3 separate regions of the Homo sapiens genome follow, and all the other regions are linked to region 2. Evidence: promoter capture Hi-C in 16 types of primary human blood cells and fetal thymus (Javierre and others, 2016). All regions are on one chromosome and are shown on one strand. The core of a region is centred on a gene start or on the middle of the fragment in contact, and the rest is flanking DNA. Distances in the headings are between cores, read along the strand shown.

The links. The method cuts DNA at HindIII sites, captures the fragments that hold promoters and counts their contacts. A CHiCAGO score of 5 or more calls a contact.
Region 1: a fragment that was not itself captured here is called in contact with the fragment with the promoter of SH3KBP1 in region 2 in 10 of 17 cell types (activated CD4 T cells, monocytes, total B cells and 7 more); the score reaches 9.7 in activated CD4 T cells.
Region 3: a contact is called between a fragment that was not itself captured here and the fragment with the promoter of SH3KBP1 in region 2, in 12 of 17 cell types (activated CD4 T cells, naive CD8 T cells, total B cells and 9 more). The highest score is 13.8, in activated CD4 T cells.

The regions. Positions count from the first base shown.
Region 1 is chrX:19,760,419-19,763,309 of GRCh38, reverse strand. The region is part of intron 2 of SH3KBP1 (SH3 domain containing kinase binding protein 1); the gene reads left to right. Among named protein-coding and RNA genes, the nearest start is that of SH3KBP1, 130 kb to the left of the region's middle. The HindIII fragment of the contact is 4,616 bases long and covers 1-2,891 here.
Region 2 is chrX:19,886,101-19,889,046 of GRCh38, reverse strand. SH3KBP1 (SH3 domain containing kinase binding protein 1) reads left to right here and starts at 1,447. Exons shown (of 18, transcript NM_031892.3): 1 at 1,447-1,740. The coding sequence starts at 1,737. RefSeq lists silencers at 996-1,295, 1,356-1,425, 1,906-2,045. The HindIII fragment of the contact is 9,463 bases long and covers 1-2,946 here.
Region 3 is chrX:19,793,106-19,796,180 of GRCh38, reverse strand. All of the region lies in intron 2 of SH3KBP1 (SH3 domain containing kinase binding protein 1), which reads left to right. Among named protein-coding and RNA genes, the nearest start is that of SH3KBP1, 93 kb to the left of the region's middle. The HindIII fragment of the contact is 2,235 bases long and covers 408-2,642 here.

The DNA of each region.
Region 1 (2,891 bases), core at 158-2,657, 130 kb after region 2:
GGAAATCAGCTCTCTTCCATGCTATTGGTGGGAGTGTAATTGATAAATTTTTTGGAGGCCAGTTTTTTATTATCTGCTAAAAGTAAGGATGCACCAAGTTGTTGACCCAGAAATTTCACTCTAGGGAATTTGTCCCTCAGTTGCCTTTGTGGTATATGTGCAGAGTTATGGGCACAGTGATGCTCAATGTAGTGTTGTTTGTAATCGCAGAGGACTTGAGACAACTGGGTGGTTTCATGTGGGTTATAGTTCTGTGAGAAGAGAACTATCTCCTACCCAGCAAGATTCAAATAAGTTACCCGTTTAACCAGCCAAGGATACAGAAATTTAGAAAGGAGATTGCCTCAGGCAGGAGCGTATGAGGTATATATAAAAGGTATATCCCAGATACCAATCTCCACTCGCAGGTTTCCAGTGGTCTAAATGGCAAGGGAGATTTTGCCAGATCTCAGAAACAGCCAAAGTTTGCTGTGCCACAAATCTTTTTTCCATGAGCATTTCAGAAGAGCCAATGAGGACAACTGTTGTGCCTTCATCTGTGGTATGGTGACAAATAACGCAGCTCACCTGATTCACCTTGCCTGCTGCCTAGACAGAGCCGATTTATCAAGACAGGGGAATTGCAGTGGAGAAAGAGTAATTCCTGCAGAGCTGGCTGTGTGGGAGACCAGAGTTTTATTATTACTCAAGGAATTGGAATTTTTAAAGATAATTTGGCAGGTAGGGCTTGGGAAGTGGGTAGTGCTGATTCAGGTCAGGTTGGAGATGGAATCATAGTGGGGGTCAAAGTTAGGTTTCCTTGCTATCTTATGTTCCTGGGTGGGATCGCACAACTGGTTGAGCCAGTTTACCAGTCTGGATGGTGTCAGCTGATCTAGTAGAGGGTCTGCAAAATACCTCAAGCACTGATCTTAGGTTTTACAGTAGTGATGTTATCCCCAGGAGCAATTTGGGGAGGTTCAGACTCTTGCCAGGAGCTGCATGACCCCTAAACTGTAATTTCTAATCTTGCAGCTAATTTCTTAGCCCTCCAAAGGCATACTGGTCCCCAGGCAAGAAGAGGGTCTTTTCTGGAAAGGGCTATTATCAATTTTGTTTTACAGTCAAACCGTAAACTAAATTCTTTTCCAAGGTTAGTTCGGCCTACGCCCAGGAACGAACAGGGACAGCTTAAAGGTTAGAAGCAAGATGGAGTCGGTTAGGTCTGATCTCTTTCATTGTCATAATTTCCTCAGTTTTAATTTTCGCAAAGGCAGTTTCACTTCCGTGTTCCAAAATCTACTTTCAGACACAACCAGACTGTCCCTTTTGATACTGGTCTATCCTACAGTTGGATTCTGTGCAGCTATGAGGAAGAGGGGCAAAGCTCTGATGGAGAAGTTGTCTAAGATGCATTGTTAAGTTGAAGAAAGCAAGTTGCAGTATAGCACACATAGTAAGAGTCCATTTGTGTCCTCTTGTTATGTATTTTTTGGAATGAACATGTATACCTTTAATTATTAATTTTTGAGTGGTTACCCACACACAGTTTTGAAAGTCATATGCTGCTAAAAGATGTGTGAGTACCCAGCAGCCTCTTGTCCCTTCTCTTTGTGTCCTTATATTCTAGGAGGCAGTCGTTCTTCAGTTCTAGCTGTTGCTTCTACTATTTGCTGCTGTGCTTCTGAATAATATTCATTGCTGCTCTCTTGGTTTGTCGATTCTAGATATGATCTCTTAACTATCATGGTAGTTGAGGACTTCAGCTTTTCTCTATATGCACATATCTCAGGTTTTGCTTTAATCTATACTTAATGTTTTCATTAATGTAGCAATGTTGATATTGAATATTGAAGCAAGAATATACTATAATTAACTTACGTATATAGCTTTATTTCTCTCTCTCCCTCCTTTCCTCCCTCTCTCCCCATCTCCCTCTCTCCCTCTCTCTCCCCCCTCCCTCCCCACTCTCTCCCTTCTCTCTCTATCCCTCTCTCTCTCTGTCCTTCCTTCCTCTTCGTCCCTCCCTCTCTCTCTTTCTCTCTCCCCTACTTCCTCTCTTCTCTCTCTCTCTCCCTCCCTCTCTCACCACCATCTCCCTCTCCCTCCCTCTCTCTCTTCCCCCCCTCCCTCCTCCTTGTTTTCTTCTCCCCCCTCCCCTCCCCCCTCTCTACCTCTCTCCTTCTCCCTCTCCTGGAAAAACACCAGAGCCTTCCAACCTCCTGTTCCACTCTGCTGCCCAGCTGTCAGCCAGGAAATTCCCATCACACCTCCGCCGCCTCCTCTCTCTCATTGACTGTCCTGGATCTTGCGTCCTTCTCTTTCTTGTTTTACTCATTTGACTTGATGGAATGCACCCTCCAGTAGCCTTCTGAGGGAGCCAGTGCACGGCTTCAAGTAAATTTTTTGAAACTTCTTCAAAACCAACCACACTAGGAGTTGCATACTAAAAAGTTTTTCCTTTTAGCATTCAACCATCCCTTCTTAGCCCCTGGCCCATGTCTGTTGGCAGGTGGGGTTCTCCCTCCTACTGATGGAGCCAGAGAATCCTGGGACCCAGAGGCTGTGCCATTATTCACAAGATCTTATTTAATCTTCAGAATGGTTTGATAAACTAACAAAACTGAGGCACCAAGGTTACGCTCTCAGTGGTATCAGAACCAGGAATTGAAGTGTCAGCTGCTTGGGCCAGGCTGATGCCTTTCCTAATCTAGCTGCTCCTTACTGGAAGAAGGAATAACAGTACCATGCCCCAAGTGACACATGCCAGATGCATGTAACCATGGTTACAGGGTGAGTCCAATTCTCGGTGCCCACTTGTGTCTGGTTCCTGACAACTTCAGCTCTAGATAGCCATCCTTCTCTCTAGAAGTACCTTCCAGTATGTATGTATGTATGTATGTATGTATGTA
Region 2 (2,946 bases), core at 198-2,697:
CTTGATTAGTCTCCTATTTCGATCGGTTTGACACACATGAACGGTATTTAGAAAGATGATGCTACTGATCTCTTGTTTGTAAGACCCTGACTTTGAGGTTTTTTGAAAAACTCATGAAACAGTTATAAGAACAATTTTCTACAGAAATCCCAGGACGGTAACCAATTTACAAGAGTTGCCCCGCCAACACAGGTGAGGTATGGAGACAGCCCCTCTCTTGGGTAGGGGGTCGGCTTTCATTTGTCCCTTTTGAGTCCACTAGCCCTCAGCCTCCTCCATTTCCAGGGGCCACTGATGTAATTTCTCTATTGTCTTACGTGCTCTTTGCCTAAATGTCTCCCATGTAGTTCACTATCGCTTCCTACCACCAGATGGTGGAAAGGGAAAAGGAAATAACGGGCCGGTAGAGGAATGTGGTGGCAGGCAGAGTATCTATGGCGAAAGGTGTGGTGGTGAATGGACCCAAAACGGAGCTTCTGAATTGCCCACGAATGCCCACGGATTCCCTGTTAACATTTTAGCGCCCACTCAAGGGTCGGCCGTCCAGGTCTGGGAGTCAGTAAGGCACAATAATGCCTGCTAGGGAGGGAGCCAGCCCTCATCTCAGCGGATTCCTGGGAACGTCAGAGCTCGGGAACATTCCTGAACACCCGAACCGCACCTGGCCCAGGCACTGGGGCGGGGCTTAGGCGGGTCCCAGCGAGGCGATGCGTCCCCTCGGCCCCGCTGCGTCCTTCGCCCGTTTTTCCCCACGTCAGTGCCACCGCCTCCTCTGTGCGGAACTCGCACCTGGCCTGCCTGCGTTCCCACGCCCCACCGAAGGGACGCCGCGTTTCTCTCCCTTCCAAGGGACCCTTTTCCTTCCCCTCCAACAGCCCCCCGGGAAAACTCATTCCAGATTGCCTCGATGCCCCAGGGCCACCTGCCATCACCCTGGTCAGGCGTTTGGCCCCGGGCCTGCCCTGGTCTCCATCCCCAGCCCGTCCTCCACCTCTTGTCGCCCCCTCCCGCTCAGCCCCCTTCTCCTCCTTCTCCACGTGCCCCTGCACTCCCACGCCCCTCCCCCAAGAAGCCCCTCTCCTCCGGTCTCGAGGAGTCTCGCGGCACTTCCCGGGGCGTCAGCCCAGCCGCTGCGGGTGGGTGGCAGCCGCGCGGAGAGGGGTGCCTCTGGCGCGGGCGGTGAGGAGGGCGCCCAAGCCCCTCAGCCGCAGGGACGCCCCCGGCGCCTGCCCCGACGCGGCCCCGGCCCCGGCCCCGCCCCTCTCCGGCCCCGCCCCCGCCCGGCGGCCGCGCGTCCCCGGCAGGCGGAGCTGCAGGAGCCTCGCGGCAGCGCTGAGGAGGAGGGGAGAGCGGGCGGCGCGGCCGCGGCTGCCGGGCGCTGGGCTGGGCGGCGCTGTTTTTTTTTTTTTTTTTTTTTTTTTTTTTTTTTTTTTTTTTTTTTTTTTCGCAATTTCCACTCGCGGGGAGCAGGAAACCCGGCGCAGCCGGGCGCATTGGGCCGCGATGCAACAGCAGCAGCAGGAGTCGCCCCGGGGCAGCAGCGGCAGCAGCAGCAGAGGCAGCAGCGGGCGGCGCTGAGCCGCCGCCGCCGCCACTGAGGAAGAAGCCGGCCCAGCCGCCGCCGCGTCCGGACCCTCGCGCCTGGATCCCAGCGCCCCGATCCCGGCGCCCCAACCCCCACGCCCGCCTCCGCCAACTTTCACGCTGCCTCGGCGGCCCGGCCCGGCTCGACGCCAATGGGTGAGTGGGGGCCGCCCGCGTCCGGGCGTCCACTTCAGCCTTGAGGGCGGCGCGCCAGTCCCAGAACCGCGGAGCCCGGGAGGGCGCCCCGGGGGCAGGGTCCGGACGGGGGACACCGCGGTGGGCGCCCTCGCCTGCCTCGCGCACCCCCATTCACTCCCACTTGCGCCCGTGTGCCCGCCGAGCCCGCGCGCGGCGCCGACGGGAACCCGCGGGGGCCTGAGCAGACGATCACGGGGGCTGGCCCCGGGCGGCTCGGGCTGAGGGATGCAGGGGGTGTGGTTGGTTTTTCGGGTGGGCGGGGAGAGTTTTGTCTTGGCCATTTTTGCACCCGAGCGCGCCCTCCTCTGCGCTGCGGACACGGGCACCCGGACCTGGTGGGCTCCGGCCCTGCGCGGGGCTGCTGGTGTCTTCCTGGTCCTGTCTCGGGGGAAGCTGGAACCTCGGGGTCTTGGAGGGGGCTGGGTTGCCTTTGCTGGGGGTTGACAGGGGTTGGGGGGTGGGGCGGGAAACGCCCCAGTTCCTGGTCTGGCTCGCAGTCCCGGGGTCCAGAGCACCTGACGCTCCTCTCCTTGCGCCCCCCTTCCTCCCGGCCCCGACCCTTTCGCTGCTGCCTTCCTCCAGCCTGGCGAGCTCTCTGCTCCGTGATGCTAAAAGGCCACTTCCCATACTGTCCTTTAAGTCTTCAGGGTCTGGGACCTGGAAATGGTGATCCGGTCTTTGATTTACTGAGTAAACATCAGTTCGAAGTAGCCAACTAACCTTTGAACCCCCTGGGTCCCATTTGATTTAGACCCCGGAGCATTGGAACCACCTTGCTGCCCAGAGAAGCTGCCACTTTATTGGCAAGGCACTTATGATTACTTGGGCTATTAAATGTTTGGTCTACCCAGGTAATGTTCTTGCTGACAGCCAGCTTCTGTTTTTCAGCCTCTGGCAGATTATTTTTGGATGTTCCTAGGCCAGGCATAGGAAGGCTGCAGATAATAATAAATCATAATAAAGTGAGACCTTTCTGTGTTCAGGTAATAGGATTCCAGTACACTAGTCAGGATGTTCAGAAAGCCTGAAGGATTGGAAAAGAGGAGGTTTAACCCAGTCCGTTGTTGACAGGCAAAGTTAAAATCCCATTTGTGGTCATTTGCCAAAAAAGGTTTTCCTTTTCTAAGTAGTGGTGATCTGTTGTCCCCTTGGCTTAAATGTCAC
Region 3 (3,075 bases), core at 276-2,775, 93 kb after region 2:
AAGTTCTGCAGTTAAAAAAACATCTGGCAACCTGGTCTACGGTACACATCCCATGTAACTGAGGTAAGTTTCCTGAAACAGTAGCTGCCTTCACTGTGTGTGATGCCCTCTTGTATTCTCCATTCCATTCAACAGATGCTTGTCAGGACCTTCTAAACTGATTACGTGGCCCACCGATTGGTGGCAGTCCATTTGAAAACAGTTTGAGGGACATTAGTGTAGGTGAGGTGTAAACTATGCTTAGTTTATATAGAGGTTTACATGGTGTAAGCTATTAAAAAGAATTTTTATGGCAATATAATAGACATACATAAAATGCGCATGAGGGTACGGCTGTTGAATTTTTACAAACTAAACACATCTGCATAATTAGCACGAGATCAAAACACACACCATTGATTTAAGCTTCTTTGAATCAAGACAGAGGCATGAAGTACAACAGAAACTGATAGCCCCTCAGTTTGTTGTGAATTACGCACAAACAGCTTACTCCATAGGCAGACTCTTTTTGGAGGTCCGTAGCTTGCCTTTCCAGTGATGGGGTCTGGCTGGTATTTGTTTGAGATCTAAGAATTGCCGAAGGAGTGGAATATGGCCTCTGTAATGGCCTCAGAAATTAGCACAAAAGGAGGGCTGACTGAGAATGTGCCTCGTAAAATGTGAACATGGAGGAGGAGGAGGAGGAAAGGGCAAGGCCCCGTAGTTGAGTACAGAAACATTAGGGTGTGAGAATTTGTGGTCATAGTAATTGAGACCAATTTTACTGAAATGGAGGGCGGCAAAAGGAGGAAGGAAAAGGAATTTGTGATTACAGCACCAAGCCCCTAGAGGTTAAAGAACGTCTCTGTAAAATAAGGAATATCTACCTCTCATGGTGAGTGTTGACTTTTAGAGAAAATTGTTCTAGTATACTGAACTAAAATGCTTAATTCTTGGCAAAAGATACAGATGCATCTCCATGCAAAAGCAAGCTAAAGCAACTTTGCTTTCATAATGTATGGGTTCTGTAAAGCTGTCTTGGTGGACATGCCATATGTAATTCATCATAATGGGGTGTGCATAGAAATGAAAGGGAGCGAATATCGTAACATGCCTTGAAGCATTGAGTGCTAAGTTACAAAGGGCATTAATTAATACAACTTAATGGGATTCATTTATAGCTCACTTTTAGTCAAACTGAAATAGCTTTCCTGAATCAGGGACTTTGGGATAATAATAAATCCTTTTGTCTTTGTTGATCAGATAAGCTCTTATTCACTGACTTCCTGTTACTTTCTTGGCACCCAGAGTCATGCCTGGGCACTAAGGATTTGCTGAATGAATGGAAGGAGTAAGGACAAAAAAAATCGTAGCTAGCATTTAATGAGTGTGTACTGTGTGCTTTGCCTCTTTTATCTGATTTAGTCATCACTACAAGGCTGTGAGGCAGGCACTGTTATCATTTTCTTCTTTATTTTATTTTATTTTATTTATTTTTTGAGATAGAGTCTTGCTCTGTCGCCCAGGCTGGAGTGCAGTGGCGCTATCTCGGCTCACTGCAAGCTCTGCCTCCCGAGTTCATGCCATTCTCCTGCCTCAGCCTCCCGAGATGCTGGGACTCCAGGCGCCTGCCACCAAGCCCAGCTAATTCTTTGTATTTTTAGTAGAGACGGGGTTTCACCATGTTAGCCAGGATGGTCTCGATCTCCTGACCTCGTGATCCGCCCGCCTCAGCCTCCCAAAGTGCTGGGATTACAGGCGTGAGCCACCATGTCCGGCCTATTTATTTATCTATTTATTGAGACGGGATCTCACTCTCACCCAGGCTGGAGTGCAATGGTGCAATCACAGCTCACTGCAGCCTCGACCTCCTGGGCTCAAGTGAGCCTCCCACCTCTCAGCCTCCTGAGTAGCTGGGACTATAGTTGCACACCACCATGCCTGGCTGATTTTTTTTTTTTTTTTTTTTTTGTAGAGACAGGGTTTCACCATGTTGCCCAGGCTGGTCTTGAACTCCTGGGCTCAGTGATCTGCCTGCCTGGGCCTCCCAAAGTGTTGGGATTATAGGTGTGAGCCACCATGCCCAGCATTATCCCTTCTTTTAGAGCCACCTTATTTCCTCTACTTGCCTGGGGACCGTTCTGGTGTATGCCTGTTGTCCTCGCATTAACATTGACATCACCTGCTTTCATTCTCAGATGTCCTGGTCAGATGATAAACCATTTCACTCTGAAATGTTCTGGTTTGGATAGACAGATGAGGAAACTGAGACACAGAGAAGCCACATCACTTTCCATGGTCACCAAGCTAGTAAGATGTAAAGGTGGGATTCTTTCCTGGGAGTCTGATTCCAGGTCATGTTGTCTGATCACTAAGTTCTGGTGCTTCACAGTTTAAGCCAAGGGAGAGATAATATAGGAAAACCACTCTTTATGTTTTTCAGCTTCAGTATTTAGTAAAAATCACTGCCAAGTTAGCATCTGAAGTAGGTTAATGTGACTCAGGGCAGTGGGAATGTGCTAGGTAAAGACTCATTGAAACCCTAAGTGTGTGTTCATTAGTAAACTTGGCCAACTACTACCCTAGAATGATAATAGCATTCACATGTGCATGGTGCTTTATAGTTTACAAAACCTCTTCTCCCATATTATTGTGTTGAAGCTTCTTGTGCACTCAGAGGTGGGAGGTGGATGGCCAGTGGTGGGATTTCCAGTTTATAGAGGAGGATGGGGTAATCAGCAGGATAGTACAGTTGCCTGCCTGAGGCTTCACGGCTAGAAAAGAGGCAGATCCAGGATTCAACCCAGGTATTCCGCCTCAGCGATCAGTGCATTCCCACTTTAGCACGGGTGCCTCTTAGCCAGATATATATATATATATATATATATTTTTTTTTCCTTGAGACAATGTCTTGCTTGCTCTGTCACCTAGGCCAGAGTGCAGTGGTGTGATCACAACTCACTGTAGCCTCAACCTCCCAGGCTCAAACAATCCTCCCACCTCAGCCTCCCAAATAGCTGGGATTACAGGTGTGCAACCACCATGCCTGACTAATTTTAAAATTTTTTTAAGAGATGGGGTCCCACTATATTGCTC